7 separate regions of the Homo sapiens genome follow, and regions 2, 3, 4, 5, 6 and 7 are each linked to region 1. The links are contacts of gene promoters, found by promoter capture Hi-C in blood cells and fetal thymus (Javierre and others, 2016). All regions are on one chromosome and are shown on one strand. The core of a region is centred on a gene start or on the middle of the fragment in contact, and the rest is flanking DNA. Distances in the headings are between cores, read along the strand shown. Region 1 holds the start of BIRC2 (baculoviral IAP repeat containing 2). Region 2 overlaps ANGPTL5 (angiopoietin like 5). Region 3 has its middle 7.5 kb from the start of MMP8. Region 4 has its middle 25 kb from the start of MMP8. Region 5 overlaps MMP8 (matrix metallopeptidase 8). Region 6 overlaps MMP27 (matrix metallopeptidase 27). Region 7 overlaps MMP10 (matrix metallopeptidase 10).

The links. Contacts are between HindIII fragments. The CHiCAGO score rates a contact against its expected background, and 5 or more counts as called.
Region 2: a contact is called between a fragment that was not itself captured here and the fragment with the promoter of BIRC2 in region 1, in 1 of 17 cell types (total B cells). The highest score is 5.6, in total B cells.
Region 3: a fragment that was not itself captured here is called in contact with the fragment with the promoter of BIRC2 in region 1 in 5 of 17 cell types (M1 macrophages, M0 macrophages, M2 macrophages and 2 more); the score reaches 18.2 in M1 macrophages.
Region 4: a fragment that was not itself captured here is called in contact with the fragment with the promoter of BIRC2 in region 1 in 3 of 17 cell types (M1 macrophages, M0 macrophages and M2 macrophages); the score reaches 8.7 in M1 macrophages.
Region 5: a contact is called between a fragment that was not itself captured here and the fragment with the promoter of BIRC2 in region 1, in 5 of 17 cell types (M0 macrophages, M1 macrophages, M2 macrophages and 2 more). The highest score is 21.9, in M0 macrophages.
Region 6: a contact is called between a fragment that was not itself captured here and the fragment with the promoter of BIRC2 in region 1, in 4 of 17 cell types (M1 macrophages, M0 macrophages, M2 macrophages and 1 more). The highest score is 13.2, in M1 macrophages.
Region 7: a contact is called between a fragment that was not itself captured here and the fragment with the promoter of BIRC2 in region 1, in 4 of 17 cell types (M0 macrophages, M2 macrophages, monocytes and 1 more). The highest score is 8.7, in M0 macrophages.

The regions. Positions count from the first base shown.
Region 1 is chr11:102,345,913-102,349,440 of GRCh38, forward strand. BIRC2 (baculoviral IAP repeat containing 2) reads left to right here and starts at 1,302. Exons shown (of 9, transcript NM_001166.5): 1 at 1,302-1,464; 2 at 2,686-3,528. RefSeq lists an enhancer at 1,854-1,923. The HindIII fragment of the contact is 3,484 bases long and covers 1-3,278 here.
Region 2 is chr11:101,903,978-101,907,651 of GRCh38, forward strand. ANGPTL5 (angiopoietin like 5) reads right to left here. Exons shown (of 9, transcript NM_178127.5): 3 at 3,126-3,270; 4 at 1,767-1,870; 5 at 837-930. Among named protein-coding and RNA genes, the nearest start is that of CEP126, 9.2 kb to the right of the region's middle. The HindIII fragment of the contact is 1,205 bases long and covers 1,791-2,995 here.
Region 3 is chr11:102,730,780-102,734,100 of GRCh38, forward strand. No RefSeq gene overlaps it. Among named protein-coding and RNA genes, the nearest start is that of MMP8, 7.5 kb to the left of the region's middle. RefSeq lists silencers at 2,547-2,596, 2,717-2,766. The HindIII fragment of the contact is 7,810 bases long and covers 1-3,321 here.
Region 4 is chr11:102,748,396-102,752,251 of GRCh38, forward strand. No RefSeq gene overlaps it. Among named protein-coding and RNA genes, the nearest start is that of MMP8, 25 kb to the left of the region's middle. The HindIII fragment of the contact is 325 bases long and covers 1,432-1,756 here.
Region 5 is chr11:102,710,990-102,714,865 of GRCh38, forward strand. MMP8 (matrix metallopeptidase 8) reads right to left here. Exons shown (of 10, transcript NM_002424.3): 8 at 3,567-3,720; 9 at 2,765-2,868; 10 at 807-2,468. The coding sequence ends at 2,359. Among named protein-coding and RNA genes, the nearest start is that of MMP27, 7.2 kb to the left of the region's middle. The HindIII fragment of the contact is 1,540 bases long and covers 1,575-3,114 here.
Region 6 is chr11:102,692,247-102,696,089 of GRCh38, forward strand. It overlaps MMP27 (matrix metallopeptidase 27), which reads right to left. Exons shown (of 10, transcript NM_022122.3): 7 at 2,721-2,851; 8 at 1,660-1,819; 9 at 692-795. Among named protein-coding and RNA genes, the nearest start is that of MMP27, 12 kb to the right of the region's middle. The HindIII fragment of the contact is 4,808 bases long and covers 1-3,843 here.
Region 7 is chr11:102,775,537-102,779,245 of GRCh38, forward strand. MMP10 (matrix metallopeptidase 10) reads right to left here. Exons shown (of 10, transcript NM_002425.3): 3 at 3,677-3,709; 4 at 3,088-3,213; 5 at 1,076-1,240; 6 at 744-888. Among named protein-coding and RNA genes, the nearest start is that of MMP10, 3.2 kb to the right of the region's middle. The HindIII fragment of the contact is 2,277 bases long and covers 1,164-3,440 here.

The DNA of each region.
Region 1 (3,528 bases), core at 52-2,551:
GAAGTTTTTAGTCATTGGGAGCCATGGCATTTCTTTTCTCTGTATTACAAACTGTTACACTCACTTTCTTTGACTATTAACATTGGAACAGTAGACCTCCTGTTCTGTGACTGACTGGCAGGCAGAAATGACACAGACAGGAAATGGGAAATGGTTCAGGGTCTTGGAATTCCCCCGGCTCCCTAATTAAGTGGCTTGCTATTTGGAAGTTTTTTAAATATTTGCCCCTTGGAGTTCCCCAGAGAGAAGCAAGCATCGGATTCAACGGGCAAAGAGCGTCAACTTCAAAAGTCGTTCGTTGGTTGTCATACCACAAACATTTACTGCACGACACTGTGTCTATGGCACTATTGGGGGAGTATGGCGGGGGGATACAAAAGGTCCATGACTAGCAAAAGCCAAGGGTTTTTATTTACAAATTTTCTATTACCTAAGCATTAAAAAAAATTGGGCTCCTCTCTGGTTTATGTACAATTATATGTGCATGTACACCAATACACAGGCAGACGTATATATTTCATTTTATTGAAACATTCAGAAAATACTGGGAGTGAAGCCTGACTTGCAATACAGTTCTCTTTGCTGGCAATGAGCATCTGAAATAATGACACTTTTTTCTTTAGTGCATATGAACTGTTTGTCTCCAGAACAGAAAACCAAAAGTTTAAAAACAAGATACTCCCGTTGACATCAAGTCTTCAGAATTATTCATCTGATGCTTCCTAGTTTCCAAAGTTTCGCTTTTTTCGATTTGCACAGGCAGCTGTTGAACGCTGATGCTACACAAACGGTTACAATTGTTTACTTAAGCAAAAAATGCCACCAGACTGACTCCATCCTCAAAATGCAGTCATCTGGACGGGGGGAGGCATCACACTTGGGGAGCCTTGCCAGGGGCCAGATCATAACCCTGAGGTGACACAGGGTAGGACGCGCAAAACCACCGGCGCCAGGGCGTTTCCGCAGGGTTTCCCAAAACTCAAACGCAGCGGCTCACGGTTTGCCACGTCCCCCAGGAGAATGGTAGACACAGAGAGGAAATGTGGAGAGGGCACAAACCGCAAGGTGAAGAAAACGAACAAACACCGAGTTGATACGGATAGTCCCCGTTCCCCTGAGGGCCGACCCCGTGACTCCCGATGAGCGTCCAGTTGCGCCGGGCATCCTGGCCTCCCAGCGTCTTTCCCGGAGGTTCATCGCCGCACGGCGGAAAGCGCTCTCGGTTCCGCTTTCCGGCCCCAGCCTCCCGGGCGCCCTCGCGCGGCGGCTAACGCTGGTCCTCGGCCGGGCGCGCTGACGTCATCGTGCGTCAGAGTGAGCCCGGATGGGGCGGCGGGCTTCGGGAGCGCCCGGGCTGATCCGAGCCGAGCGGGCCGTATCTCCTTGTCGGCGCCGCTGATTCCCGGCTCTGCGGAGGCCTCTAGGCAGCCGCGCAGCTTCCGTGTTTGCTGCGCCCGCACTGCGGTGAGTGCTGCTCCTTCCGGGCTCGGGCGGCGTGGGGCGGGTGGGGACGCGAGGGCCCGCGGGGGCCCACTTCCCTGATGTGGCGGCGAACGAGGAAGGACGGGGCCTGAGGCCCTTCGGCCAAGGGTCGAGGGTCGCCGGGGGCTCTCTGCTTTCTACTCTCGCCAAGGTTTTATTGGATTCGGAAGCCCCAACTTCGAGACTTGCAGTCAAAGCGATTTTTAAAATGACTTGTTTTCAAGCCTCTGGCCGCCGCCCACTCTTCTGGCCCTTGGACTTTGACCAAGATGTTTTCTCGCAGTTTTTGCAAGGTTTTAAACTTAGCCCTCGGCGTTCTTTTAATGTAATACATTGAAACGAAGATATTTCGGTGGCGGCGATATTTCATATTTCATAGTTGCCACTGCGCTCTGTCATTCCAGTAGTCGTCTGTTGTGTATTGTGAGAAGCAACTCTGGGAAATTATTGGGTAAATCCCATAGTTTCTATTCTTTTCCCTTCCATCCTATCCCCTGCCCAGCTGCAATTTGCGTAAAGAGAATGCAGCAGTGCGGTGCACGTAGATAAAAATCTTTCATTTAAAGATAGGATATAAGACCGGGTGTAATTAAAGCAATCATGCCAGTGGTCGTAGTGCCGGAGCCACTGTTTCACAGGCCACTGTGTTAGGTTTTGTTTTCGAGTTGCTTTCTGTGGTCGTTGCTTTGAAATTGTAAGGGAATGGCAGAGTTTAAGAGTTTATATTAATGAACTCGTGGTGCATTTTACTGCAGTTTTCCTAGTCGTGGAGAGACTTGATATTACAAACTAACGTTGCTGTCTTAATTCCTGCTGTACTGCTGCTGACAGGGTGTAGTGGAGTGTCTGTCTGTCTTTTTAACCAATGTGCCTTTGCCTCCAGCAGAGTGCCAGAGTTACCTTTAGGCCAGAAAAGGGGAGGAGAGCAAGGACAAAATGTTTCCTGTGTGAAAATTTCCATCTGTCTCTGAAGTTGTGCGTTTTAAAGACACGTATAGTTAGTGCTATGGGGAGTATGTTGCATTTACTTATTTTAATTAATAGCTTTTTCATTTAGAAAGTTGTGACAAATTGCTGGAATTAAGATGTATTATCTAAAGTGTGAATTATTCTTAGACTTTACTGAATAAATTGAAGAGTATGTAAGTTCTATTTGGCATGCACATACAGTTTTCTAAAATACTTTTTGTTTTTTCTTTTCAGATTTACAACCCTGAAGAATCTCCCTATCCCTATTTTGTCCCCCTGCAGTAATAAATCCCATTATGGAGATCTCGAAACTTTATAAAGGGATATAGTTTGAATTCTATGGAGTGTAATTTTGTGTATGAATTATATTTTTAAAACATTGAAGAGTTTTCAGAAAGAAGGCTAGTAGAGTTGATTACTGATACTTTATGCTAAGCAGTACTTTTTTGGTAGTACAATATTTTGTTAGGCGTTTCTGATAACACTAGAAAGGACAAGTTTTATCTTGTGATAAATTGATTAATGTTTACAACATGACTGATAATTATAGCTGAATAGTCCTTAAATGATGAACAGGTTATTTAGTTTTTAAATGCAGTGTAAAAAGTGTGCTGTGGAAATTTTATGGCTAACTAAGTTTATGGAGAAAATACCTTCAGTTGATCAAGAATAATAGTGGTATACAAAGTTAGGAAGAAAGTCAACATGATGCTGCAGGAAATGGAAACAAATACAAATGATATTTAACAAAGATAGAGTTTACAGTTTTTGAACTTTAAGCCAAATTCATTTGACATCAAGCACTATAGCAGGCACAGGTTCAACAAAGCTTGTGGGTATTGACTTCCCCCAAAAGTTGTCAGCTGAAGTAATTTAGCCCACTTAAGTAAATACTATGATGATAAGCTGTGTGAACTTAGCTTTTAAATAGTGTGACCATATGAAGGTTTTAATTACTTTTGTTTATTGGAATAAAATGAGATTTTTTGGGTTGTCATGTTAAAGTGCTTATAGGGAAAGAAGCCTGCATATAATTTTTTACCTTGTGGCATAATCAGTAATTGGTCTGTTATTCAG
Region 2 (3,674 bases), core at 1,143-3,642, 440 kb before region 1:
AGGTAGGTACTATCAGTTTACTGATGAGAAAACATATCAAGAGAGCAGCAAGCAAGAAATTTGAAACCAAGGAGTCTGACATCAGAGTCCATGCTCCTGACTACCACATTATGCCTGCTTTGGGGCAGTTATGAGATATAATAAAATAATTTTAATAACAAAATAATGTGAGAAAGTGCCTGTCTTCCTACCTATCACATAGAAGATTTTTAGGCACTGTTTATTGTCTTCTTTTTCGAAGAAGGACATAAAGATCATGTTCTAGGCCCTCAATAATATTTATTTGCTTTAAACATTTGGGGATAAATTCATATTTATAAGATTTATAGGGTATTTTTCTTAGAAGTCCAAACCTCTAGGAATTAATATGCTGTATTTTAGTATAAAAAGTGCTAACTTTCAGTTTATTCTTGTCTTACATTTCTTTTTCTTTTCAAATTTTATGCCCCAATTTGAAACATTTCAAACATGTCAAAAACATTTTTTACAGGTGGGAGGAACTTTGAAACTTTCTTTTCTTCTATCTGAAGATGAATTATTAATAAGATATAAACTGGGAGTCCAGAACAAAGCTATAGAAAGCTATGTTATTTTCAACAGCTTCAGGATATCTTTATACAGCCATGGCTTTCACATGGTTGAAAAAGTTTCCCATTTTAAGAAAGTACACGTTGTCTATGGTGAAATTTGCTTAATAGCAGGTATTAGCCCTCCAGTCTGTTAGAGAACGGTGAGCTGTAGTTTTTAAATAAAACTTTTAAATGGATCGACCTGTCCAGGAAAATTTTAAGCAATAAAAGACAAACATGAAAAGGCTGAAATACCAAAGTTCTCACCATGTGACTGAACAGGTCTGTGAGGAAAAGGATCCAGCTGTTTTCTAAAAACTTCTGTAGTCAAAAGGAGAACTCTATTCATGAGCTCGTTAACCTAAACACATGCATACACATTTAAGTAAATTTATATTTGAAGAAATTGCCATCTCTAAGCCTCTCATAAACCCAGCTCTGAAATACGTAATGGTGCCCATTTTTCTAGATTGATTTCTTACTGCTTTAACAAAGAATAAAGGCAAAGCTAAATAGCAATCATTAAATTTCGTAGTATCTACCTCCTTAACGTTGATTTTATCTGCCCCGATTTCTGCATTTGGCTGCTCTTGCACATCTGCCCTTCATACCTTGTCCAAACCATTGCTGTAGTTTCTTACCTCCTCCTTTGGCTCTTCCTCAAGTCATTGGCCACACAAGTTAATCAGATTGTGGCATTTCCTTGCTTAAACACTACAGTGGCTCCTTGGTGTGGTATGACTTCGTTCTTGCCTATTCCTATAGTCAGTTTTCCTTAAATACTCAACCTCACCAGCCACTCCACCCTGTACCAACACCAAGAAGTTTCCCCAGAATGGAATGTCCTCTTCGCCTTACCCAACCTTTATGATTTTTAAAACATTTATTCATCCTTCATGACTGTTAACAGACTTTCTCCTCTGGGAAGCTTTTTGTATCTGAGAGTTCTCTTTTGTGCCATTCTAGCAACCACATTTTTGTCAACACATTTTAATGCTCCACTAGACCATACCCCTTGAATTAAGTTCGATTTTTTTACTGCTTTTTGTTTGCCTAAAGTTTACTATGGTGCCTCTAACATGGTAGGCGCTAAATAGATGTCTGAACATGAATGCATTTTAAAAAAAGATTATACCTCCAGCTAACTATACATCAACGTGTACATGCAATAACAACACAATACTAAAACATCTATACCTGATTAGATAAATAATCCAAGGAAGCTTGTTGCTCATCCATCATATTCCTTAGTAGTTTTTTGGTACTTCTTGTGTAGGAAACAATAGAATTTTGCAAATTTCCTTAACCATAATAAAAAGTGGCTGTTAAATATTATATTGTTACAGAAAACAATTACAGTGAAAAATAGTGAATTTTACCTGATTTTGGATATGTATGTTAACTCAATACTATCTCAATTTATCTTAATACTCAGAATTACATATTTTAGTTAGTATATCTTTTGTTTAACTCAGGATTAACCCCAGAAATGATTGTCTCAATACTTCTTAATGAAACTATGCTTCCTACTAATATAGATTACCCAGAATAATTAATCTGTTATCATTAAGAGACAGTGTTCTGATTATAAATTCTCACTTTATAAGATGAGATATATAGAGGCAGGAGTTATAGGATTCATCAATTCTTACTGTAAAAGAAAGTTAGTGGTGACAGTTTTATACCAGGCAAGTTAATTTTAAAAAGTACATCTTTGTTTTAATTTTTCTATTAATACTATATTTACACAATTAAATTGCTAGCACATACATATACATACACATAATAAATGTTAGTCAAAGGTTTTGGTTATTTGGTTTCTGACTAAACATTTACTATACATTTTCCTTTTAAAAATGTTTTTATCTTAAGAGAAAATTTCTTATAGCGAAGTTGCGATAACAGTACAAATAACTTTTTCCTAATGCCTTTGAGACCATGTTGCCATGATGTACCGTCATGCTATTTCAGTGTATATTTCTTACACCAAAGACATTTCTAATAACATACCACCAAAATTAGGAAATAAACATTCACTACCTATATTTCTCAGACCCTATGTGAGTTTTACCCAAGATAGTAATAATGTTGCCCCCTATAACAAAAGGGCCCACACACTATTACGTATGTTATTCTTTAAAATTTTATTTTCTAACTTTCTTTCCACCAGCAGTAGAATCACATTAAAAAATCTTGATATTTTTAATTCTACCTCACTCTGCTTCCTCTCTCTTTCTTATTTTCAGTCTGTCACTTTCTATTAGCTTTTTCCTGAATTTAGCCATCTGTCTTAATAGGTCTAAAGCTGCACTCATTGGTTTGAGAAGCCTGAGACCCTTTTGTTGCACACAGAATTAGCTACATAGAGAAAGGATCCATTCATTTACCAAATATTTATTAAGCACCTATTATGGGCCAAACAATAAAGCTTCTGGCCTAGGATGATCAGGATGTATAGAAAATGACCCAGACAAAAGCTAAAGTATACTTTTCAGTGTCTACCCTAAAAATAATGAATCATATACTCTTATTATTTTGTTTATTTTTAATACTTACTACACATGAAATGTTTTTCTTCTCGTGTAATTTTAGTTTTAACATCACATGATTCCTCACAGTCTTCCTTACAAACAGTATCATTACTTTTACTTTCATCTTTTGCATTAGATCCATCTTCTACAATGTTAACTACTGAAGAGTCCTTTATATTAAAAAATAGAAATAAGAAAAAAATACATTAAACATGTTATATGACCTAATACATAATAAAAAAGACTATAGAGAAAAGCTTAGATTTCAGGAAAGACAAGGCTGATCATTAGAGAGAAATATAAGCTATTTAATTCAAACTTCCACAAATAAACCTGATGAGTAAATAAAATCAAACGGACCAATTTCTTAATTTCCTGGGTAGCCACTCACAGGACAATATTTGAAATATGAAAGTTTGTGGAACAGCTTTTTTTTTAAGCAAAGTGATTTTTTACTACCTATCAGATATTTCATTGAAAAGTTGTGGGCTAGTTTTTAATCTAGGCCTGAAATGTCTTCAAAATATTTTCATATCTGTTGAATCAATCCTCAGTTTATAGTTTCCTCAGTTTA
Region 3 (3,321 bases), core at 108-2,607, 380 kb after region 1:
ACCACACACCTACTACTCACACCACACACCTGCTCTTCCTCACACTACACACCCAATCCTCACACCACACACCTGCTCTTCCTCACACTACACACCCAATCCTCACACCACACACCTGCTCCTCTTCACACCACACACCCACTCCTCACACCACTCACTCCTCACACCACACACCCGCTCCTCCTCACACCACACATCCACTCCTCACACCACACAACCGCTCCTCACACCACAAACCCGCTCCTTCTCACACCACACACCGGCTCTTTCTCACACCACACACCTGCTTCTCCTCACACCACACACCCACTCCTCACACCACACACCTGCTCCTCCTCACACCACACACCCACTCCTCACACCACACACCCGCTCCTCACACCACGCACCCACTCCTCACACCGCACACCTGCTCCTCTTCACACCACGCACCCACTCCTCACACCACACACCTGCTCCTCCTCACACCACACACCCACTCCTCACACCACACACCTGCTCCTCCTCACACCACACACCCAATCCTCACACCACACACCTGCTCCTCCTCACATCACACACCTGCTCCTCACACCACACATCTGGCTCCCATCCCCCTTGGAGCCCAACCAGCTGTCACCCACATACGCCTGTTGGAGTCTGTGAGAATTCATCTCAATAAACTGTCTCACATCTATATAGTCCCCACTAGATTCTGTTCTCACTCCTCTTGATCAATGGTTCTCAACCTGAATTTATTTTTTAACCTAAAATATCAGAAAGACACCACATATGCCCTTTGGTGACATTGGCTTGTCAGGGGCAGTGGATTAGTTTTCCGCAGCTGCTGTAACATATAACCACACGTCCAATGGCTCAAAACAAGATAAATTCATTGCCTTACGATTCTGCAGGTCAGAAGTCTGGTATGGGTCTCACTGGGCTAAAATCAATATGTTAGCAGTGCTGTGTTCCTTCTGGGAGCTATAGAGGAGAATCAGTTTCTGTGTTGTTTCCAGCTTCTAGAGGCTATTGCATCCCTTGGCCTGTATTTCCACCTCTGCCATCTTCAAAACCAGCAATATCACTTCTCTCTAACCCTTATTCCATCTTCTTGTCTCTCCCTGATCACAGTTGGGGGAGGGTCTCCACTTGTGAGGACTCAGGTGATTTGATTGGACCCACTGAGATAATGCTAATCTCCCATTTCAAGGTCCTTAACCCAAATCACACCTGTGAAACCTCTTTTGCCATGTAAGCTAACATGTTCACGGGTCAGGATGTGGGCATTTTTGGGACCATTGATCTTTCTGTTACAGGCAATAATTCTCAATGAGAAGAGATGGAGGTAGTCAGTAAATGTGTAGACTGACTGCACAGGGAAGGGCACTTCAGGATCTGTGGTCTGCATGTGATTTGAAAAGCCCTTTAGGAGACCATGCCCTATAACTCCAGGATAACCTGCACCCACCCTGTTCTCCATTTTGACTTTCCATGCCAAGAATATGTGAGTATTTACTGAATACTCATTAGAAGTGAGGTACTGTCATAAAGGCTTTTGCAAAGTCACTTTTATGTAAATTTCTTAGGTATTACGTCTTTTAAAAGCAATACAGAAACTGAGGATCAGAAAGGTTAAGTGAATTACCTGAGATCACACACTGGCAGATGTGTAATGTGTGGCAGAATTTGGGAATCCAAGTTTGGTTTAATTCCAAGGCTCTTTCTGTTCAGTCTCCACAAAGTCTTCTACTGGAGTTGACCTTCTGCCTGAGTAGCTTCTTTAGTTTAAATGTCACATTAAGGTCATTATGGGAACTTTCTGACTCTTTCTTCCTCCAAATTCTACAGATGTGGTTGCCTCATACATCAGGACCAAACATCAGAGGAACCTGAAGTGACAAGCCCGAGGTACTCACAGACAGCCTGTTTCTCTTTAGCATGGGGAATGGAAATCCGAAGACCTGGGTTTGACTCCACTCTATCATTTGCTTGACCTTGCACAAGTTCCTTCATCTCTCTGTCTTAATTGCACATCCCTAATTGGCCACTTATTACTGTGGGACCCTAGACACAGTTCACTTCACATCCCTAAGTTTTAATTCCTTGCGTGTAAAATGGTGGTAACAATAGCCCTGACATCATAGGAATGTTGTGAAGATTAAATATGGATGTGTAGAAAATGTTTAACACAGAGTGCAAAATAACAGATAAAAATTACAGTTCTCTGGCAATTAAATATAAAAAAAAGCCTCACAGGATAGGAGCACTTTCTATATTGCTATATTGTTTTACGTTCTTATTTCAAAGCCGTGGGCTTTAAGGAGGTAATGCACGAAAAGCAATATAGAAAGTGTTGTTCAAACGATTTATTTTATTTTAAAAATCACTTATTTTTAAATAGTCTAGTAATACAAAAATACATGCTTATTAAAAAAAAAATTCCAAACTTTCAGAAGTACGGTAAGTAAATGTGAAGTTTTCTAACCCCCTTTCCCCCTACTTCAGTCCCCTCTTCTAGAGGTAACCAATGTTAACATTTTGAAATGTCTCCATCCAGATATTTTTCTATGGCTTAATGCTCCCAGAGTAAGCTGGTGTATAGCAGACGCAACCAGTGGCCTTCAATGAAGTCACGGATGGCTGAGACCTGTCACTCTTAGCCATGCTAGTGGTCATCATGCCCCCTGTAAAACCAGCAGAGGGCGCCAAAGTCCACTGGGGTATTCGGAGGGTGAACTGTTCGGTCAGATCAACAGTCTTCTTCGAAATAAGAATGTAAAACAAATAGATCCCATTTATCTCATTTAGTAAGGATGAGCCCAGGTTTTGAACTAGGTAGGTTAGTGGGAGAACTGGACATTAAAGACTTGGCCAAAGCTCATTAAAATGAATAGTTTGCTTTAGGTGAGAATGCAGAATGAGAAACTCCACAGTGGTCACAATGTTCCTAAGCACATTATTTTGTCCTCTGTTAACAGATCTTAATGCCAGGTTGTGGGTGGCAGTTTTAGCTTACTTGATAAGGGCTATCACATTCTAAGTGTCAGTTCACCAACAATGGCCATCCAGGCGGTGGCTAGCTTCCCGCTCTCACAAATAGTTCTGTATTGGCTGCCCTACAAGTCTCCTGGGGATCACAGTCAGAATGAATACTTACAAGTGGGACTACTGGGGTTAGAATACAGGTATTCTTATGATACAGCCAGATTTTGCTTCACAATGGTTGCACCAATTAACAGTTCTGCCCGCTGTAAATAAGGGTTCATATTCCCCATGTTTTTATCAGCACTTAATATAACCAGAACTTCTAATTTCTGCCATTTTTGGTAGGTATAAGTA
Region 4 (3,856 bases), core at 344-2,843, 400 kb after region 1:
CAGCACTTTAAATATGTCACGCTACTCTCTCCTGGTCTTTAAGATTTCCACTGAGAAGTGTGCTGCCAGACATATTGGAGCTCCTTTGCATGTTGTTTCTTTTTTCTTGTTGCTTTTAGGATCCTGTCTTTATCCTTGTCCTTTCAGATACTGATTACTAAATGCCTTGAGGTAGTCTTATTTGGGTTAAATCTGCTTGGTGTTTTATAACCTTCTTGTACTTGATATCTTTCTCTAGGTTTGGGAAATTCTCTGTTATTATCCATTTGAATAAACTTTCTACTCTAATCTCTCTCTCTCTACCTTCTCTTTACAGTCAATAACTCTTTCATTTACCCTTTTGAGGTTATTTTCTAGATCTTGTACGTATGCTTTTCTCTTTTGTCTCCTCTGACTGTGTATTTTCAAATAGCTTGTCTTCAAACTCACTATTTCTTCAGCTTGATCAATTGTGCTGTTAAGAGACTCTGATGCATTCTTCAGCATGTCAATTGCATTTTTTAGTTTCAGAATGTTTGCTTGATTCCACGTAATTATTTCAATGTCTTTGTTAAATTTATTTGATAGGATTCTGAATTCCTTCTCCATGTTATCCTGGATTTTGATGAGCTTCCTCAAAAGAGCAATTTTAAATTCTTTGTCTGAAAGGTCACATATCTCTGTCTCTCCAGGATTGGTCTGTGGTGCCTTATTTAGTTTGTTTGGTGAAGTAGTGTTTTTCTGGGTGATCCTGATGCTTACAGATGTTCATCAGTGTCTGGGCATTGAAGAGTTAGGTATTTATCATAGTCTTTTTAGTCTGGACTTGTTTGTACCTGTCCTTTTTGGGAAGGCTTTCCAGGTATTCCAAGCAACTTGGTTGTTATGATCTAAGTCTTTGGTCACAGCAGCCATATGTGCTTTAGGGGGCACCCCAAGCCCAGTAAACCTGTGGCTCTTGTAGACCCACAGATGTACCAGCTTGGTAGTCTTAGGTAAGATCTAGAGGAATTCCCTGGATGACCAGGCAGAGACTCTTCTTCTCTTTCCTGACTTCCCCCCCACCCCCCTACCCACCAAATTGAGTCTCTCTCTCTCTCTCTCTCTCTCTTCCTCCATAAGAGCTGACTGAATTCTGCCTGGTGTTGCAACACTAATGACAGGGCAACACTAAGTTCCAATGCAAAGTCTCACAATCACTGTACACTCCCTCTTCCCCTAGTGCAGATTCTCTCTTCATGCCATATGATCACTGCAGGGGGATAGGAGAGGGCTGGTGTAGGTCATTCAAGACTGTCTTTCCTACCCTTTTCAGTGCCTCTTTCCTTAATATGATGTTAAAACCAGGTAGTGTGATTGCTCACCCGATTTTGGGTTCTTATGGAGTTGCTTTTTTGTGTGAATAGTTGTTCAATTTTGTGTTCTTGCGGGGGTGTGAGGACAACTATTGGAAGCTTCTATTCAACTATCTTGCTCTGCTTCCCCTGAAGACTATTTGTAATAGCCCCAAATTGGAAACTACTTATATGTCCTTCAACATAGACTGGAGAGATAAATTGTGGGAAATTATTCACTCAATGGAAACTCTACAGCAAAGAGAATAAATGATCAAAAATTACATAAAAATATATTGATGAATCTCATAAATATAATGTTGAGTGACAGAAGTCAGATACTAAGGTATATAATGTATAATTCCATTTATTTTAAGTACTGAAAGAGATAAAGCTAATCTATGGTATTAGATTAGAAGTTAGGATAGTAGTTACCCTTAGAAAGCTTAGTACCTGGAGAAGGGATTTGGGGATACTGGCAATTTTCTTTTGTGTGCTGGTTACTTGGTTGTGTTGTGAAGAGTCATCAGCTATATACTTATGATACATGGCTTTTCTGTATTCATATTATATGTTGATAAAAGTTACCTTTTTAAAATATATATACTAAATCTCACTCTACTGCCCAGGCTGGAGTGCAGTGGCGCGATCTTGGTTCACTACAACCTTCACCTCCTGGGTTCAAGTGATTCTTGTGACTCAGCCTCCCAAGTAGCTGGGATTACAGGTGCCTGCCACCACACCCGGCTAATTTGTGTATTTTTTGTTAGTAGAGATGGGGTTTCATCATTTTGGCCAGGCTGGTCTTGAACTCCTGACCTCAAGTGATCTATCTGCCTCAGCTTCCCAAAGTGCTGGGATTACAGGCGTGAGGCACTGTGCCCAGCCACTTTATTTTTTATACGAAGTTTAAGTGTCTGTTTTCTTTAATATGTGACAGTGTTGCCATGTACATGTAAGGATGATACAGTTTTACGCTGTTTTTTCTTTGTTGAAACTGAGGGCTGTTATTGTCTTGGGTGGATTGAGATATGCATCCCATATGTGCAGCTGCTCAGGTTAAAGTCAGAGTCTTGGACTCTAGTAAAAAGCTTTTTTCTGTGAAAACCTAAGGATGACCTTGATTGACAACCCTTAGTACTTGCTTAAAACTAACTTATATAAGTTCATGAAGCAATATATTCTAGCTAACATAGAATATGTTCAGATTGAAGTTAAATAAGATTGTATTTCTATGTCTCTGCCTTGTGTTACCAAGAGACTGAAATAAAATACTGAAATACCTGGTTTCTTAGAAAAGAACATATTTTGGGCTCATTAAAAATACTTTTTATTTTCTGTTTGGTGATAGTCAACCATCAGTTATTTCTGCACTTGAACCAGATGTTAGCTTTCAGGAGAGTCAAAATTTGCTTCATTTTAGGATTACATTCATACTGCCTTCTTCTACAAAAGAAATAGAAAAAACCTAGAAATAAAAGAAACTAGATAATGATTTTTCACATGAACTCTTGAAAATATCATATTTTTGTGTACACAGTTTACTGTCTTATCTATGTAACACTAAATGTGTAATTTTATGATAGTGAAATGAGGAAATTGAATGGTCTTTACCTTTATTTTTCAAAACAGGTCAATTTTTTTTACTAATTCCGGGGAGGTCATCAATGATTTTGGGATAACCTGCATCCACGGACTGCATATTTTCATCATACCTGGTAACAAAAAATAACTAAAAATATCACATTGTGGTTAATATAAAAACAATAAAAAACACTTAACTTTCATGTAGAACTTTCCATGTACTAATCACTGTCCTAAGTGCTTTTCATATGAAGATTCATTTAATTCTCACAACAAATCTGAGAGGTAGGTACTGTCTGTGCCTCAATTTTGCAAAACCCCGATGGCTGCTTTTAAAAATTATGGGTGGGTACATTGTTGGCATGAAACTATTAAGAAATTTTAACTGGGAGGGAGAGTGGGGCAAACTAGACAAACTCTAAGTTATTCTCAACCATAAAAATCTGATTCAAATTTTCCCTTGGGCTCCATGTTCTGTCCTATCAAGGAGAAATGCTTCATTTTCTCCTTTTTGGATGCCTCTAGTCCCCTTTGTGTGTTCTGCTCTTTATCTCCTTTTCAAATGCAAGCCAACAAGTTCCTTGCCTTGCTAGGCAGCAGTGTGATAACAGGTAGGGGACTGAATGGCTGTGGGCCTGGCTGCATTCATTCTCAGAAAAAAGGAAAGTTTCAGTGAAATTTGAGAAAAATTTTAAAAGGCAACTCTCCTTCCACCAGAGTGATCTGATTTCCCAAGTTTTCTGAGGGTAGGTCTTTACCTCCAATACTCATTGGCAACAAAGAAATGTGTCTTTCCAGTGTCCTTCTCATAAATGGCAGCATCAATTTTCTTCACCCTTTCAGGGAAGACAAAGGAGCTGTAGACGTCCCTGGGGTAGCCACTCAGCAGTTGATCCTCCTGAACGACCCAGTGCTTACTGCCTGTCAACAAAAAATCGGCCATGAAAAGATTTGCCTGG
Region 5 (3,876 bases), core at 1,095-3,594, 370 kb after region 1:
TAAATGCATTCTAAGCTTAGGTCTTTATATCTCTTGTGCCCATTCAAAATATCAATGTAATAGCTGGAAAATACTACATGTTGTCAACAAGATAATTTTTTTAAAAGGAATAACTCTGAATTCTTTATTACACTTCATATTACAGTTTACTGTCTATGACTCTGTCAAATGTGGTTAAAAAATAGTATGAGATCAGTCCTCATCTCAAAGATGTATAGATGAGGTTTGAGCCAAGAGTCTATCATAGCCAGCACAACTAGCAGGTGTTCTGAGAAGATAAGACACTCATTTTCATGCCTGCATTTTCCTAAAACTTTCATAACTGGCATTATAGAAAGTTTTAGGAAACATGATAGTCTGAAATTGATGCTACTATTAAAAATGGAATATTCAATTCTTATAGATCCTTTTGCATTTGTTACGTTGATATGATGAATCGCTTATACATCTCTCTCACTTTTCTTAGCACAGTCCCTGAAACATAATTAATAGTAGGTAGGTAGTTAATTCTTGCTGAATAAATCAATGAATGGAATGATAATATATACTTGTTTCAGTTTTCTTATTTTGTAAAATAATTTGAGAATAATGTATTAACATACTTGAGGAAATTTTTGAGGACCTCAAATATTTATAAAATATTTCACACACTCTGAAGCAATATCTAAAGTTTATTATCAATATTATAATAATTCTGACACAAGCATTATATATCTGCACAACATCTAAAATTTGCTATTCCTTTTTATACTTTAGATGAATTATGTGGTAACATTTTAAGAAATTAAAAGCAAATCACAAATCAGTCATTTGAAGTAAAAATCTTTAATTTGAACTTATTTAATAGATTATTTTAATTTTTGAACAAGCATAAAGGTGCCAATTTAATTATCTGTGGGATTTAAAAACTTCAACAGAGAAAGAAAATAGGAGGTACTAGTGAGAAATATATTTTACAGTCTACATATTTATTGTATAATAAGCTATATTATATTCTAATAACAGCAAATATAACATTATAATGATTTTGATATCTGGACTCGCTAGACTTGGTCCCATAAATCCTATAGTTCTTAACAAAAAAACCCATCCGTTAGCAAACTTACACATCTAAGCTCAGTTTAATGCAACTTAATGAGACATTGAATTTTATGCAGCTAACCCAAGTTATCTATAGTGTGTGCCCTCCTGAGTACCCCAGGAAATAGAAGTAAAGAACTGACGAACATCAGATCCAACTGGCCCATTTGGGTTTGGACTCTAGGAGAGAGCAAGGAGGAGGCAGGAGAGGAAGTGGTGGTTCTCTTTTGGCTGCTGTCCTGGGAAGATGCCCAGTAGTCCTTAGCAAGGGTTCTACTTCTGCATTCTGTGTTGATTCATTTTCATATGTGTAGATGTACTGTGTCTAGTACCTCATGTCTAGGGTTGCTGTAACAAAGTATTGCAAAGTTGGTGGCTTAAAACAAAGGAAATTTATTCCCTCACGGTTTTGGAGGATAGAAGTCCGAATTCTGCAGGTGTCAGCAGGGTCACACTTGAAGGCTATTGGAGGGAATCCTTCCTTGCCTCTTCAAAGCTTCTACTGGTGGCTTACAGTCCTTGGAATTCCTTGGCTTGGAGATGCGTCACTCCAATCTCTGCCTCTGTCTTCATACGGCCTCCTCCCCTAGGTGACTATGCCTCTCTTCTTCTTATAAGAACAACAGTCATAATGGATTTAGAGCCCACCCTAATTCAGTGTGATCTCACCTTAACTTAACTAATTACATCTGCAAAGACCCTGGTAAGCTCACATTCATGGGTACCTGGGGTTAGAACTTCAACATATCTTTTATGGGGGACACAATTCAACCCACGAAACATATCATCTACATTTCTTTCCAAGGGTAGAAAACAGCACCATATTTTCTGTAAAGGCCAAGGGTACTGTCTAGGTTGTTTATAATCCTTACTTCTAACCAAAATCTAGTTCTAAATTGCATGTAGAAGATATACATAGGACATTTTAAGAAACTGAGGGATGTATGAAGTCAGATAGGCAAGTAATATAACAATAAATCCTAGAAGTCAGATATGTAAGTATTGAAATAGTAAATATTGAGGTGACAAAAAGGCTTACTTTCCTTCTCTTTGATGGAATCACTAATGTAAGATGGAATGTGTAAGAACTGAATAAGCCTCTGCAAATAGTGGAATATTCCAAACATATTTTCACGGAGGACAGGTAGAATGGATACAGTGATGGGAAACAATGACTTAATATTGAGAAAAGTATAAGCAGGACACAATGTAACGAAAATGCTTGCTGAACTTCCCTTCAACATTCTGAAAGTGGATACAGCCACATTTGATTTTGCTTCAGCCATATCTACAGTTAAGCCATTTATTGCCTCTTGCAACTCTGGTAACTCTCTGAGCAATAAGATCAAATGCGTAATATCTTGGTCCACTGAAGACATGGAAGAAATCTATAAAAAAAGAGAGATAATTTATTGAATTAGCTTATAGAATATCTCAGATGTCTTCAGTTAGAAAACCCTGCCCCTGTTCCAACATAACATTCAAATGCAAACATGCTATTTAAAAAATTTAAACACCAGGTGCGGTGGCTAATGCCTGTAATCCCAGAACTCTGGGAGGCTGAGGTGGGAGGATTGCTTGAGGCCAGGAGTTTGACACTAACCTGGTCAGCATAGTAAGACCCTGTCTCCTCTATAATAAACAAACAAACAACACATTTATTAGGTTTTTTTTTCCTACTTACGTTCTTGCTGGAAAACTGCATCAACTTTACTCTCTATTCCTGGAAAGGCACCTGATATGCTTTTGGGATAACCTGGCTCCATGAATTGTCTTTGGTTATCATATCTGGTAAAAACAAAATGTTATCCGATTTAACACCAATACAGAATATAACGAAAAAAATTTTTTTTATTGTATATAATTTACAAAGTCTCCTCACACATATTTTTTCATTCAGTTCTCACAATGCCCTGTTTACTAGGATTAAGAATGGTTAATTTCTCTACCTAAGGGTACACATTTATAAAACATATGGTTATCATTAATTCTAAAACAGGCTTGATGGCTGACACACTGTTATTACCCAAAGTAAGCTTATATTTTCAAGGCTTTTACTTAATTGGTATATAGTATAACTCCCTTGTGTGTGTATATAGATATATAAACATACATAATAGGTTCAACTTGGGAACCAAATTCTGCAGGCTATCTGGATAACATTTGCTTGCATATGTCTGAGTTGAACTCATAAGTGAGAATTAGCTTAAATCTTTCTTTGTATCTCACCCTAGTGCTTTGTTAAGGTTTTCTTTGTTTCTTGATGCAGAATCCTCAATACTATTGCATAGACATTTTAATTTTATAGAAATGAAAAATTTCAAAAGCCATGGTAACATCAATCATCCTGTAAAAAAGAATATATTCTCGGTAAAACCTATTAGAGACTATCTAGATTGTTTTAAACCTTGAAATGCTTGAAGGTTTGTAAGCAGGGTAGAGAAACACAGATTTCAACCTATAATTGAAAAAATAGTTTACGTTACCTCCAGAATTGGTCATTTACAAAGAAGTATGTTTTACTTCTGTAGAAAACAGCTGCGTCAATTGCTTGGACGCTGCTGGGGAAGCCATAGTTTGATATATCCTTGGGATAACCTTGCAGAATATCATAGCCACTCAGAGCCCAGTATTGGTTGCCTGTCAATGATTCAGGTTAAGTGTTAAATACGACTTTTCCATTTTTACAAAATTATATATATATATATATATATATATATATATATATATATATATACCACTTCTTGGTCTTGCACATAGATATGAAAATGGAACAAATAGTCTTTAAAAGATGAA
Region 6 (3,843 bases), core at 727-3,226, 350 kb after region 1:
AGACTGTGGTCTATGCCAGAGGTTTTCAAACTAGGCTTCAACAAAGTGTCTCAGTGAGGGGGAGGAAAAGGCCCCTGTGGATATGGCCTTGGTCTCTATATTCTCATTTTCTTAGAGCCGTTCTACTTTGATCTGTTTTAGGTTTTGAGGTTCTGTGTTAGATTTCATTGTAATAATAGATCATGTCACTCAAAGATATTTCTAGATTACCCCATGGTCTAGGTCATTGTCTTGGATGATATAGTTGCTGGATTGTATTCATTACATTGCCTGAGGTTCTTTTAAAACTGCAGATTCTTAGGTATCACTCACAATTCTGCCTCAAATACTTTGTTTCACACACAAACCCCAAGCTATGTACATTAAGGTACATACATTAAAGTTTGAGAATCATTGTTTTGTTCATGTGCTTAGTCACTTCGCACACTTTAGGGGGTGTCTTTACTTATCAATGATGAGTAAAATGGATTTGGTACTTTTTACATAGATTTGAGATAGTATAACAGAGAGTATAATTCAGGATTTATGGATTCAGTTTGTGATAATGTTTGTGGGGTTAATGTTTATTATTGTATATACTTAAGAGTAGCAAAATTGCATTAAAATAAAAGCATTTAAGTTTTTGTGCTGTCTTTTTTCACAGTCAACACAGTCTCTCAAGTATCCCAATAAGTGAGACATCCATGCTTACCTTTGTACTGGAAAGCAGCATCAACACGGATACTGATTCCAGGAAAGTGTTTTACCACTCTCTGCGGGAACCCTTTGTCCATGGTTTGGGTCATTTCATCAAACCTGCATACAAGAATATGAAAGGATACCAGCGGATCTTTGGTTTGGGGAGCTTAATTTGTCTACCGCACAACTTAGAGTCAAGCAGGGATGTGGGGAATACATAGGCATAGTAGAGGAAAACTAATTGGATCAATAATAAAAATACAGTAAAGATTATGTTTGGTTGAATCATTTATAGAATCTTCCAAACAAGAAATGATCAGGGAAAAAGGGCACAACATATGTTAGATTGATGCTATTCAGAGAAATCGTTACATCAGATTGAAGGCTGAGCTTGGAGCTTTCAAAATTTTTCACTAGATATGTTTGTGTCATTGGCAATTTGGTTGGGATCACCAACTTTTTATTTTATCTTATCTTTTTTTTTAAATTGAAGGAAAGTCATTAGACTCATTGAGATCTCTTTCGGCTTGATAAATGTCATCCACTGCCTTCATTATTCACTTTAAGAAGACTATGGGCTGGGCGTGGCGACTCATGCCTGTAATCCCAGCACTTTGAGAGGCCGAGGTGGGTGGATCGCTTGAGCCCAGGAGTTCGAGACCAGACTGAGAATCATGGTGAAACTCCATCTCTACAAAAAGTACAAAAATTAGCCAGGCGTGGTGGCACATGCCTGTAGTATCAGTTACTTGGGGGTTGCTGAGACAGGAGGATCTCTTGAAAGCAGGAGGTCGAGGCTGCAGTGAGCAGAGATTGCAGCACTACACTCTAGCCTGGGAGACAGAGCAAGACTCCATCTCAAAAAAAATAAAAAAATAAAAAATATTATGGATTCATTTTAATTTTGTCTGTGTCAAAGTGATGCTATTGTGAATATTTTTCTCCATAATAAAACAAAGTGTCAATTGTCTGTAAACTTACCTCCAGCACCAAATGCCCACAAAGAAGTAGGTTTTTCTTGTGGTCTTATCACAGACGGCTGCATCTATTTTCTTCACACGTCCTGGAAAACCTAATGTATGGATGGATTTGGGATAATCTGGCAAGACAGCATATCCTCTGATCATCCAGAAGTTTTCATCTAGGAAGAGAGGAGTGATTATTTATTTTCTAGAGGGAGAAATAGGTATCTCAAGAAATTTAAAAATCATTAGATACCTAGTTCCTTTTAGCTTCAGTGCTTAGAGATTTAATAATCTTATGTCCACATTCATTCCTACCACTTTCTTTAGCTGCTCATATTATTTATATTACACAAATAATATATACCTGTAAAAGTCAATAGTATGCGTACCTTTGTCAATTGGTTTCATTGCATTGATTGCTTTTAATTGGCTAACTCTGTCAAAACAATCAAGTAAGCAATGCATATATGTATTTAAACATCACATTGTACCCCATAAATATGTACAATTATTATGTCAATTGAAATTTTTAAAATGAAGTATGTTTGGACATGTTCTCCTAAGTTTCAGCCCCCAAGTGCTCTCAAAGGCTAGTAATCTGATAAGATCATGATCATTAAACAGAAAATGTCAGTTAAATTTGATTTCAAGTAAACAATGACTAACTTTTGGTATAAATAAATACAAAATATTTTAAGGGATATATATATATACCAAAAAATTATTTGTTGTTTATCTGAAATTTATAGTGTCCTATATTTTTATTTGCCAAATCTGGCAACCTTAGTAAAAAGTGAACATTAAAGACAGATTAATTACCTTTATTTGGCAGAAAAAGAGACTTTTTTAGTTTTTATCACACAGGTTTATTTTAGTCCCTGTGCAACTAGGATTGTGTTTATCTTCACAGCCACAGAGAATCCTGGTTATTTATATTCTTTACGACAGGAACCTAAGATGAGAGCAAAAGCCCTGCGCCTTGGCTCATGCATGAAGATTTTATTTCTTACACCAAAATATCCACTGGTTAGTTCAGGCAGCCAGAGGGAGAAGAGGAATCGGGATGGGCCAGGTTACCTTTAAAAACCAGAATCTTATCTCTGGGGTTCTCGTATGCAGCTTGCAGATCAGCTGGCAGAGATGGCCAGAATGAAGCAATTAATTCAAACTCAACATCCGTGATATCATAATAGATCCTCCATAGGTGCCTGTGTTAAACAAAAAACACTTTACACATGCAGCCTATTTCCATGTCAATGAGAATTTTGTAATCTTAGGCTTGCCTTTTAGCTAATTGGTTGGTATCTTCCTCAAATAATTGAGATAATTAGCATAATTTTCCCCAGTAAATTTAGGTGATTGTGAGTTCAGTTCAGTTTGGGACTTCCAAGTCCAGGACATGCCTTTGTGCCCACTCTTGGATCCGTAGAGTGGCAAACTCATCATGGAAATCTTATTCTGAGTTCTGAGTGCTCAATGGTTTTGTTTTTGCCAAAGCAGCAACACCCAACATTCTAAGCCAACACCAAGCATTCCTAAGAGGAACTTTTTGAAGCAGATGCTTGCTGGAATAAAGAAATGTAATCACTGACATGCGAAAATACTTCTTCAGAATTTCCCTTCTGGCTGCAAAATTCTGAGTCTATGAATGAGACGTGAAAAGTCCTTATATTCCATTTCCCTCCACATACAGGCCACTCCTCTGTGACATTCATGGTGGGTAGCTCTTGGCCTCTGCTGGTCAGAGAATGGTGGTGATAACATGTGATTGTAACGCGATATATTCATGGGTGAAAGGAGTCCAATTTCAAATATTCTTTCCTTTTGCCCCTATATCTTTGTCAATGGTGTATGTCTTGGTATTTTGCTATAAAAATATGGTCATGGTCTACATAACTGACACACCATGCTGTAACTTAAGTTCAATAAATTGTAGTGAGAGAAGGGATTTCCCACTACAGCTAACACTTTATTGATGCAACTTTAAGAAACGTTCAGTGAGGTGCTGACCCATGTTTAACAACTGGCTCTCCAGGTGGGAAGAAGACATGACTTTAATCATTTGCTGATTTTCAGATGTAAATACTCCAACCATGGCCAATTTCAAGCTGCCTATGTGATGTGAACTGGTTTGCAAAATTCCTGAAAATTTAACAATAGACTCCTGTAACGGAGTGTAAGTTGGCTTCAGTAGGCCACT
Region 7 (3,709 bases), core at 1,052-3,551, 430 kb after region 1:
CAGTGTGCATATTATGTCCTAATATTTTAAAAAATATTATGTGTATATTGATGCTTGTATATGAGTAGAACATTTTTGTAAAGAGTCAAAGGAAATTGGTAGCAGTGGTTGCACATATGAAGGGAGCTGGAGGACGGTAGGCCAAAGACTGGAGAGAGATTTTTTAACTCCGTATCTTTTGGTAGTGTTTAAATATTGTGCCACAAGCACATATCACTTTTTTCCAAAAGTAATTAATTTAAATAGTAGCATATATTAGTAAATGGAAAGATACCACCCTGCTTCTAAGGATCCACCAGTGCTTTCTGAAGAAGTTCCATGATATATGATATTTTAAAAAAATGAACGAAACAGATATAACTCCCTGCCTTAATCAAACTTACAGTCTAGGGACCAAGAATCATCCCTTATAAGTCTGTAAAAAATGATCTGGACAATTCTAAGAAGATGTTAAAAATTCAGCAAGAACTAGATCTGAATGATTTTAAAATGTAGAGGAAATTTTATATTTTAAAAAATCTCTGTCAAGCAGAAAAAGTAACTACTGGGTACTAGGATTAGTACTGGGGTGACAAAATTATCTGTACAACAAACCCCTGTGACACGAGTTTATCTATATAACAAACCTGCACATGTACCCCTGAACCTAAAATTAAAAAAAAAGCTCTGTCAAGTTTCTGTTTTTCTTTCTAAGCACTGTACATCAAAAGAATAGATAGGAAAATATAATTTTCTGGTCTGACCTGTCTTTAAAGAACAGATATTCTCCCCTCAGAGTGCTGATGGCATCGAAGGACAAAGCAGGATCACACTTGGCTGGCATCTCAGATCCCGAAGGAACAGATTTTGTGGGCACCAGGGGTTCCTCAGTAGAGGCAGGGGGAGGTCCTAAAGGAAACAGATTTGGGGATGCAAACATTAAAAAAAAATGTGATGCATCTGTCAATTTGTGTGCCTTTCAAACATTCTCAAAGTGCTTCAGGCCAAATCAGAAATACTTTAGGTAGCACTGGAAAGCTTTCTGGAGGACTGTCATTGTAGATCTGCAATGCCTAATTTTTCCAGCATCACTCACCGTAGAGAGACTGAATGCCATTCACATCATCTTGCGAAAGGCGGAACTGGGCGAGCTCTGTGAATGAGTTGTAGAGTGGGTACATCAAAGCTTCAGTGTTGGCTGAGTGAAAGAGCCCCAGGGAGTGGCCAAGTTCATGAGCAGCAACGAGGAATAAATTGGTGCCTGTATGAAAATCATAAATGTTCAGAATTCACCAGCTCTTTCTTCCATAAATACACATACAGAACATATGCCAGCTGTACAGGCCATCCTTGAAACCACAATGTCTTTTCAGTATTTGTGGATTGGTTCATTGATTGGCACATTCCATACTTTATAGAAATTAATGTGTTTTTCAAGGTTGACTTTAAGTCAATATATAAGACAGTTTTTCACCGTATCCCTCCCTAGATCCCTCCTTGGTCAGGAAAACTAAGACACTTTTCCTATATTGACAAATGAGAAGCATTATTTTCAAAAGATTTTTTTTTGAAAGGACAAGACTAATAGCATGTCAGTAAATATAACTCTTCGTTGTCTAAAAATAAAAAGTCATTGTTCAAATTTAGGAACACTTGCCAGTTGCAACCTTGGTTAAAATTAATCATATAACATTTACGTTCAAACTTTTAAGCCAGAAGACTGTGGTTATTTCTTGTGGGGTTTAGTCTGATTTTCTCTTCCTCCTCTTCATCATACTCAAGTAATTTTTTTTTTTGAGACAGAGTCTCATTCTGTCGCCCAGGCTGGAGTATGTGTCCAAGCGATTCTCGTGCCTCAGCCTCCTGAGTAGCTGTGATTACAGGCACGTGCTACCATGCCCGGCTAATTTTTGTATTTTTGTTGAGATAAGGTTTCACCATGTTGGCTAGGCTGGTCTCAAACTCCTGGTCTCAAGTGATTCACCCAACTTGGCCTCCCAAAATGCTGGGATTACAGGCATTAGCCACTGGTGCCTGGCCATAATCAAATAATTTTTGATTGTCAAAAATCTTCCCAGTAATAGGTGCCATTGGATGTGTACAATCTTTAGTTTAAAACAGAAACATGCCCAATAACAGTTTTCTGCAGCACAAACACAGCTAGATTCAGCTTTTTAAAAATATTATAAAAAGGGTTTTATTGAATTTAGTAGTAGATATTATTTAACCAAGGCTCCAAGAATTGTGCAGAAAAGAACAGTTGTTCAAATAAAAGGCAATCATTTCATGCAACACAAACTTCAGTCTCGTGAGACAGAGTCTCACTCTGTTGCCCAGGCTGGAGTACAGTGGTACAATCTCGGCTCACTGCAGCCTCCATCTCCTGGGTTCAGTGATTCTCGTGCCTCAGCCTCCTGAGTCTTGTACTCAGGAAAGATGTTCTTTGCATTTACATTAAAAATCCCAGGCACTGTCAGAAATAGTGATTATTTCAACAGTGTGTTTCTAAACTTCAGAAGCCATTTTAAAAATTAAATAGCATACAGTTAATTTTAGTCATTATGTTTAGATGTAAAGTGTTTCCAAGCCAATTTAGGGCGAAAAAAACCCATCTAAGCTAGAGACAGTGACATGTTTATTCGAAAAGATGACCTAACAGTTTTTTTTCAGTTCCTGGCATTTTCTCCTGATCTCTACTTTTAAGTAAAAAGGAGGCCAATGAGAAGAAAGAAAGAAAACCTGAGGGCAAATGTTAGGATTGGAACTGGTTTAATGGAATTCATTCTATCCTAATCATCTATCATTAAAGTGATGAAAAACATTATTAATTATGCTGATCCTCAAACCCCCACAAGATCCTGAGTTGTGGAGATGAGGTTGAATGGTTTTTACAATATTGTACTTGGTGGGGGCAAACATGAAAATACAGACATTTTATAAAATTCTTCAATAATGATTGAAACAAACAGTACTTCTGTTTAAAACTCAGGTAATAAAAAAATTCAGTTACTAGTATATTCGATTTATTGCTCGTTCTAGATAATCCAATTATTTTTGGGTAGGATTGGACATTATTCCTGAAATGTTCCCGAGAGGTTTACGACCCACCTGATGCATCTTCTGTCCATTTTTCATCATCATCAAAGTGAATATCTCCATAAAGCCCAGGTCCAGGTGGGTAGGCATGAGCCAAACTGTGTCCTGGGCCATCAAAAGAGTAAAAGTCTCCATGTTCTGATAGGGAACAAATTAATGGAAATATAAGTGTTCAGAATTTCTTTTTACCCTGTTCCAATTAAACAACAGTAGATTCTATAGTCTGAATGTTGGTGTCTGCTGCAAATTCATATGTTGAAACTCAATGCCCAATGAAATATAGTATTAAGAGGTTAGGTCTTTAGGAAGTGATTATGTCGTAAGTGCTCTGCCCTCATGAATGAGATTAGTGCTTTTATGAAAGAAGCTTGAGGGAACCTCCTGGCCCTTTCTATCGTGTGAGGACACAGAAGGTACCATCTATGAGGAATAGGCTCTCATCAGACACTAAATCTGCTGGCACCTTAATCTTGGACTTCCCAGCCTCCAGAATTGTGAGCAATAAATTTCTGTTGTTTATAAATTACCCAGTCTAAGGTAACTTGCTATAGCAGTCTGAACAGATGAATACACCAGATAAATGGATGCTTTATTTGATTACCTTTAACTGCAAAAGAGATCATTATATCAGCCT